Regions from separate parts of the Homo sapiens genome. Here region 1 is linked to region 2. The links are contacts of gene promoters, found by promoter capture Hi-C in blood cells and fetal thymus (Javierre and others, 2016). All regions are on one chromosome and are shown on one strand. Each heading gives the region's core, a stretch centred on a gene start or on the middle of the fragment in contact. The rest is flanking DNA. Distances are from core to core; before and after follow the strand shown.

Region 1 (3,732 bases), core at 678-3,177, 310 kb after region 2:
TGCTGACAGCCAAACTACCAGGTAGCCCAGTACTAAAGATAATCATTGGCTGGGCGCGATGGGTGGCTCACGCCTGTAATCCCAGCACTTTGGGAGGCCGAGGTGGGTGGATCACCTCAGGTCAGGAGTTCGAGACCAGCCTGACCAACATGGTGAAACCCCGTCTCTACTGAAAATACAAAAATTAGCTGTGCCTGGTGGTGGGCGCCTGTAATCCCAGCTACTCAGGAGGTGAAGCAGGAGAATAGCTAGAACCCAGGAGGCTAGATTCTAGCTATTCTGAGCCGAGATTGTGCCATTGCACTCCAGCCTGGGCGACAAAGGAAGACTCCGTCTCAAAAAAAAAAAAAAAGATAATCATTACAACAGGATATGCTGACCTTCATACCCCACCCTCATGAGCTTTGTCCTGCCCAGCCTGTAAACCCTACACTTGATATCACTTTCCGTGCTTTGCCCAATAAAACATCTCAACCAGCTCTTTTCGGAGAGTCAGGGAATTCTCGCTCTCTTGTGCTGCCTCCCTTATACCCAGGCATAAGCTCCAATGAAGACTTGTCTGGGAAAACTTTTTTGGCCTCATGTTAATTTCTGTTGGATTGAGAGCCTAAGAACCCCTGGTAACAATAGGGAGGTAGTGGAACCGGGTTGTCCGGAGGGATATTTTCACTTTTTTGGATGCACTTGTATCTGCAGTTTTTTACAACGAGCATATATTAATGTTGTAATTATGTGTGTGTTTGTGTGTGTGTGTACGTGTGTATGTTTTTTGTTTTTTGTTTTTTTTTTAATTTGAGACAGAGTCTCACTCTGTCGCCCAGGCTGGAGTGCAGTGGCGCGATCTCGGCTCACTGCAGCCTCTGCCTCCCGGGTTCAAGTGATTATCCTGTCTCAGCCACCTGAGTAGCTGGGACTACAAGTGCACACCATCATACCCGGCTAATTTCTGTATTTTTAGTAGAGACGGGGTTTCACCATGTTGGCCAGGATGGTCTCGATCTCCTGACCTCGTGATCTGCCCACCTCGGCCTCCCAAAGTGTTGGGATTACAGGCGTGAGCCACCGCGCCCGGCCTTGTTTGTTTTCTAAATATGTAAAGTCAGAAATTAACCCAAGTAACGAGCATACATATATATGTGTGTGTGTGTGTGTATATATGTATATATATGTGTATGTGTGTATATATGTGTATATGTGTATTATGTGTGTATATGTGTATATATGTGTATATATATGTGTATGTGTGTGTGTGTGTGTATGTATATATATGGAGTCTTGCTCTGTCACCAGGCTGCGGTGCAATGGCGCTATCTCGGCTCACTGCAACTTCTGCCCCCTGGGTTTAAGCGATTCTCCTGCCTCAGTCTCCCGAGTAGCTGCGACTACCAGCGCTCGCCACCACGCCCGCTAATTTTCGTACTTTTAGTAGAGAGGGGGTTTCCCCCTGTTGGCGAGGATGGTCTCGATTTCTTCACCTCGTGATCCGCCCGCCTCGGCCTCCTCAAGTGCTGGGATTACAGGCGTGAGCCACCGTGCCCAGCCCTAACGAGCATATATTAATGTTGTAATTATATGTGTCTGTGTGTGTGTGGTTTTGTTTTCTATATAAAGTCAGACGAGTGTGTGTGTGTAGTTTTGTTTGTTTTCTAAATATATAAAGTCAGAAATAAACCCAAGTAACCCAGCCGCCTGGGCCAGGTGGTATCTGGCCCGCCCCATTCCAGCCTGAACTCCGCCCACCGCGATCCGGAAGCCTAGCGCCCAGTGGGTTGCAGGAAAAACCCGGAGCTGAACACACTGCCCGACCCGGGCCGCTGCGCTCGGGAGCCTGCGCAGAAGCCGTCGGAGGCGCATGCTCTGTAGCGGTCTCCGCAGCCAGGATTGGCGCCCGCGCGGGCCTTCGAGCCCCGCCCGCAGAGCCCCGCCCGCAAAGCCCCACCCCGGTGCGCGGGTATGGCGGCCAGCCTGTGGATGGGCGACGTGAGTGAGGGCAGCCGTCCGGGGTCTGAAGACAAGGAAGCATCTCGGTTTCGCGAGAGAGGAAGGATCTGAGTGGGAGGGGACTTGGGATCCCAGAAAGGGGAGACGTGTGACGGGGGTTCTTTTTGGTGACACAGAAGCGGGTTCCAGCATCTAAGTGAAGAGGCTGAGTCCGTGAGGCTAGGGGTCCTGGGGCCCCACCTGGGTTCGTGGGAGGGAAAGGTGGTGCTTTGGGGACATAGAATGGGAGCAATCCAAGGACTGAGGCGCGCTGTTCTGGGACCGGAGGAGTGGGGTTTCTAGGTCCAAGGGGAGGCTCCCTAAAGCGGGGCAAGCTTGAACCAAAAGAGCTGGGGTTTCAGGCCGCTCAGTGGAGGCGAACCTCGCCCCTCGCTCCCCCAGCGGCGCGTAGCCAGCCCTGGGCTGAACGGGAGGGGCTCTGGAACCCGGAGTGGGAAGCCCGGCCGCCGGCCTGAGCCGCTGTGCTCTTGTTTTTACGCAGCTGGAACCCTACATGGATGAGAACTTCATCTCCAGAGCCTTTGCCACCATGGGGGAGACCGTAATGAGCGTCAAAATTATCCGAAACCGCCTCACTGGGTAAGTCTCATCTCAGGTCTCTCTTAATACATCTCGTTGCAGCTGTCATGTACGAGAATGTAAACATCGTAGTCATGGCTTCTCACTACCCCTAGTAATAGTCACTGTAAAATTATAACAGCTAACATTTTGAGGTCCCAATGAGTGGAAGGATGGCATGTAGCTTAAGGGTAGGACTTGCCAGGCGTTGTGACTCACACCTGTAATCCCAGCACTTTGGGAGGCTGAGGTGGGTGGATCACCTGAGGTCAGGAGTTTGAGACCAGCCTGGCCAACATGGTGAAACCCCGTCTCTACTAAAAATACAAAAATTAGCCGGGTGTGGTGGCAGGCACCTGTAACCCCAGCTACTCCGGAGGCTGAGGCATGAGAATCACTTGAACCCGGGAGGCGAAGGTTGCAGTGAGCTGAGATCGTGCCACTGTACTTCAGCTTGGACAACAAGAGCAAAACAATGTCTCAAAAAAAAAAAAAACAAAAAAACAAAAAACGCAGGACTCAAGCGAGACTGGGTTTGAAAGCTATTTCTACTCTATGACCTTGGGTAAGTTACTTAACTGCTCTGTCTCATTCACTTTGAGTATAAAAATGGAAATAACAGCACCTACCTCCTAGAGTTATGGTGAGGATTAAATGAGTTAATTCACATTCATCATTAGGACAGTGTATGGCATATAGCATATGCTCAGTAAGTATAGTCAGATTACGATCTGCTGAGTAATAAGCAGTTTACATCCATTATCTCCTTAAAACCTCAGAAACTTCTGAGGTAGGTAAATACTATTATGAAGAGGCTTAATAACTTGAAGAGTTACAATAAATAGCCGGGCGCAGTGGCTCTCGCCTGTAATCCTAGCACTTTGGGAGGCCGAGGCAGGCCGGATCACGAGGTCAGGAGATTGAGACCATCCTGGCTAACACGGTGAAACCCCATCTCTACTAAAAATACAAAAAAAATTAGCTGGGCATGGTGGCGGGCACTTGTAGTCTCAGCTACTTGGGGGGCTGAGGCAGGAGAATGGCGTGAACCCAGGAGGCGGAGCTTGCAGTGAGCCGAGATCGCTCCACTCCACTCCAGCCTGGGCGACAGCTGAGACTCTGTCTCAAAAAAAAAAAAAAAGAGTTATAATAAATAACAAGTCAGGACTTGAA
Region 2 (4,161 bases), core at 276-2,775:
GTGCAAACTACACATCTTTCCAGATCTTTGTTTCCTCTGTGTAACTATGTATACAACTATGAGACTGTTCTATATGTATCATTGCGCAACCTCGGTTTTTGCTTCGTTCTGTTTTAACCTAACAGGAAATCCTGCATACCTTTCCATTTCAGAGCACTTGGAGCTACCTTCTGTTTCTTTGCTGTAGAAGCCGTTGTGTGAACAAATCCGTTTATTTCTCTCATCAGTCTCCTTTGATAGACATTTGGGTCACGTCCGGTTTTACGCTTTTACAATACATCAGTGAACAGCAGTAATACGAGCTCAAGACAGAAGGCCTGAAAAACATTGAAAAACACAGAGACGGAAAAAAAAAAACCACAGAGGGGGAAATATAATTTCGGGTTATTTCAGTTTCACCTTTACACTTTGTTATATTCCACATTTTTTGCAATAAATATAAATTTGGAAGTAAAAGCATAAAACGAAAATCAAACGATTGATTGATTGATTGATTGACTGAGACGGAGTATCACTCTCGTCGTCCAGGCTGGAGTGTAGTGGCGCGTTCTCGGCTCACTGCAACCTCCGTCTCCCGGATTCAAGCGATTCTCCTGCCTCAGCCTCCCGAGTAGCTGGGATTACAGGCGCCCGCCACCACGCCCGGCAAATTTCCAAACGTATATTTAAAAGAAGAAAAGGAAAAGAGGGGAAAAAAAGAAAGAAAGAAAGAAAGAAAGAAATTAGAAGCAGATGGGGCAGTTCAGCCTCTTCTCGCGGAGCGGGGCTAGACGGAGTCAGGGGCGGACCGCCACAGCCTGCACCAATCAGGACCCGGTTGATAGGCAGAGCCTGGCGACTTCGAAGACTCGCCCCCAGTCAAAGAGCCCCGGGGATTCGTTTCCGTACGCAGCCTGGAAACCAGCCTGGGCCTATCCTGCGCGCCGCTGCGGGCTACTATTGGCTGCCAAGAAACCCCGCCCATCTTCCTGCTCATTGGCCGGTGCGGTTTACGTAAGAGGAGCCTGTTGCTGAGCGAAAAGTCTGTTCTGCAATTTTCGCTAAGGAGTTGTTAACGCTGAAACCGCACTGGGCGTCCTGGGGTCAAAAAAACAATACTAGCCACAGTTTATTAAACTGCAACTAAATGCCAGGCTATGTGCGCCAAACTTTTAATATTAATGGTTGTAGGCACCTTTCTTGAACACCCACCACTATCAGCCAGTCACTGAGCCAGATCCTTCAAAATAACAGTAAAAATATAGATAATCTACAGTTTATTGAGCACTTCATCTGCATCAAGCCTTGTTAAGGGGTTTCCATGCATAAGCTCTCATTCTCACAATAGAACGGTGGAGGTAAACTATTGCCCCATTTAACATTTAACATGCAGTCCTGTAGACCCAGCTACTCGGAAGGCTGAGGTGAGAGGACCCAGGAGCTCCAAACTTAAGTGAGCTATGATCGCGCCACTGCACTCCAGCCTGGGCAACAGAACGAGACCTGTCTCAGAAAAACAAAAACGTAATAAAAGAAAAACAAAAACAAAAAAACAGGAAACGGGTTCAGAGAAGTGAAGTGTTTTGCTGAGGTTCACAAAGAAAGGGTTGGAACTGGAACCTTCAACTCCGATATCCTGATTCCAAGTGTGGCCTTTTTAGGGAGGGGGTCGGGGTACAGAATTCCGCTGGGGATAGGGAAAGGTAGGACAGGATGGTGGGAGGCCAGAGGCGTTGCTCCAGGGACAAGCCTCAGGGTGGTTCTCTGAGAATAGGATGTATAGAGCCTCTAGGAGTGGAGGGTTGGGGAAGGAAGGGAGACCAGAGGAAAGGGAGAAGTTGTTCTTTCTGAAAATGTGAGGCTTCTCTCCTGGGGCAGCCTATTAAGGTGTAGGTAGCCCTGGACCTCGAGATTCTAGTCTCCACTCTGTGGCCAACTTCCTAGGGAACCTTGGGCAAATTCCTCTCTCTCGACCTGAGGCTTCCTGCCTTGTAAGAGAGGTAGTAAGCCAAAACAATGGAAAGTGCATTCGGGCTGTGAAGTATTTTAGGACTCTGGTCCTTGCTGGCAGCAGGGGGAATCTTCAGCAACCACAGACCTTTACTTAGCTGTTGCCTGGCCTCTTTTCAAGACCTTCAGGCGGTGACATGGACCCTAACAATCCTATAAACTCAAAACGGTTTGGGCCAGCCCTTTCCTACTCCATTCTGACTTAGCTATAGCAGGATCTGGCCTGCAGGGGGCGTTGAGGAACCACTCAGCCGACAAAACTAAACTAAATCAACCAAGCAATTTGCCCAAAAGCACCCAGTGCGTTAGTTTTTGCATTTAAGAAGGGTAAACGTTTCCAAACCTGAAGATTTCTGTCCTCAGTATGCAATCGAGAAGACGAATTATATACACTGCCAGTTCTTTATGGCACCAGTTCTCTCCATAATGACTCTGCAAGTTTAGAGCTAATTTCTATTTCTTTGTTTTACAGATAGGGAAACAGATTCAAAGAGCTGGAAAAAAAAAATTCAGTTTGGGTTACTTGGCTAAAAGCTGGCACCCGAATTGCCTGACTCCTGGGAAGTGCTCTTAGGAGATAGTTGGCTTTGTTTCTGGGAGTCTGTGGTTGTACTGCCTGCTAATGCACAACTCCAAAGGACAATTTTGGTTGTGTAGCTTGACAGCTCGGCACCTGTCAGCTCTGTGCAGGAAGGACCTCCCTCCCCACCTAGCACAATGCCTGCTTCATGAGTAATTGAATTAATGTGTGACTAAGCCTTGAAGGATGGGTCTTCTTTGGCTTTATCAAACCAATTGGAGTGGAACTTCTTTCCTGAAAGTTCCCCCTGGGCAGGAATTGTATCTGAGATTAGTGGGTGGGGAGGGGGGAAACAATAAGAAGAGCTCAGAAAATGACATCTGGGGTGATAAATCACAGCCCCCCGAATGGTCCCATTACAAGGTCATTATAGTAAAGTGATCTCAGAATTTGAGACTAGAAAACTAATTCAGGAAGAATGAATACAGAACAGATGACAATCATATTAGGGTCATAATCTGAAATGGATCTAAGGCTGAAGACATCTCAAAAACATTTCAAATCCAGTCTAGGTAGGTGTATCTTTGGGACTGGAAGGTGATTGAGGAATATAAATAGCTGGCCAATCAGTGGCCTCAACATAGCTGATGCAAGAGTTGAGAGTGTGGCAACAGAAGAAGGAGATCTTTACCCAACCAAAAATACAAGGCAGTGGGGAGGGGAGGAATGTGCCCAGCCAGTGGCACCCTGCCATGCCCTGCTAGGCTGCTAGCTTCACCACTGGATTTCCCAGAGCCAGGCACAGTGCCTGGTACACACAAGATGGTAAATAAATATTTATTGAATGAAAAAAGGAAGGAAGGAACTGGAGCCCTGACCAGCAGATAGTTGCTGAGTAGAGCAGTTCAATAATTCGTCCTTTCACTTGCTCAGATTCCAGCTGCCTTAGCCACCTTCAGATGATAAATTTGCCTTTCAGTAAAGGCTCTCCTACAAAGAGGAATGCCCTGGCCTCTCAATTACAGGTCGCTTGACAGTTATGTTTCTCACTTCCAATTAATATATCTGCTTTAAGCATCAGTTCCTTTTGCCAGCCGGCTTCTTACATATTCATGTGTTTGTCTCATCAATGGAGTGGTGGAGTTTCTGCATAGGAGTCATTCCTGCCTGGGTTGGAATCCTTACTCAGCATATTACTAACCTATCTGACCTTGGTCCAGACGTGTTACCTCTTGAGTCTCAGTTTTCTCATCAGTCAAATGGAGACACAATAGCCTGTTTCACAACGTTGTGGTGAGAGTTACCTGAGACAGTGATGTATCCTGAATTCTTGCTGGAGCTCAGTAACTCTTAATGTCTGTGCTTCTTCCTGGCTTTTCTTTTTTGGAGACCAGGTCACAAAAGATAATATCAAGGCTGGGCGTGGTGGCTCACACCTGTAATCCCAGCACTTTGGGAGGCCGAGATGGGCAGATTGCTTGAGCTCAGGAGTTCAATAACAGCCTGGGCAACGTGGTGAACCGCCCCACCCCCCACCCCCCACCTCGTCTCTACAAAAAATACAAAAATTAGCCAGGTGTGGTGGTGTGCACCTATAGTCCCAGCTGCTTGGGAGGCTGAGGTGGGAGAATCACCTGAGCCTGGGAGGTTGA

What was found. The method cuts DNA at HindIII sites, captures the fragments that hold promoters and counts their contacts. A CHiCAGO score of 5 or more calls a contact.
Region 1: a contact is called between the fragment with the promoter of TRNAU1AP here and a fragment that was not itself captured in region 2, in 9 of 17 cell types (fetal thymus, endothelial precursors, naive CD4 T cells and 6 more). The highest score is 8.1, in fetal thymus.

What each region holds. Positions count from the first base shown.
Region 1 is chr1:28,551,158-28,554,889 of GRCh38, forward strand. TRNAU1AP (tRNA selenocysteine 1 associated protein 1) reads left to right here and starts at 1,928. Exons shown (of 9, transcript NM_017846.5): 1 at 1,928-1,980; 2 at 2,483-2,580. The coding sequence starts at 1,954. RefSeq lists enhancers at 1,640-1,934, 1,658-1,717 and silencers at 1,868-2,007, 2,940-3,234. The HindIII fragment of the contact is 4,615 bases long and covers 1-2,313 here.
Region 2 is chr1:28,246,437-28,250,597 of GRCh38, forward strand. No RefSeq gene overlaps it. Among named protein-coding and RNA genes, the nearest start is that of SESN2, 11 kb to the right of the region's middle. RefSeq lists enhancers at 556-725, 1,967-2,166, 3,805-4,161. The HindIII fragment of the contact is 6,700 bases long and covers 1-4,161 here.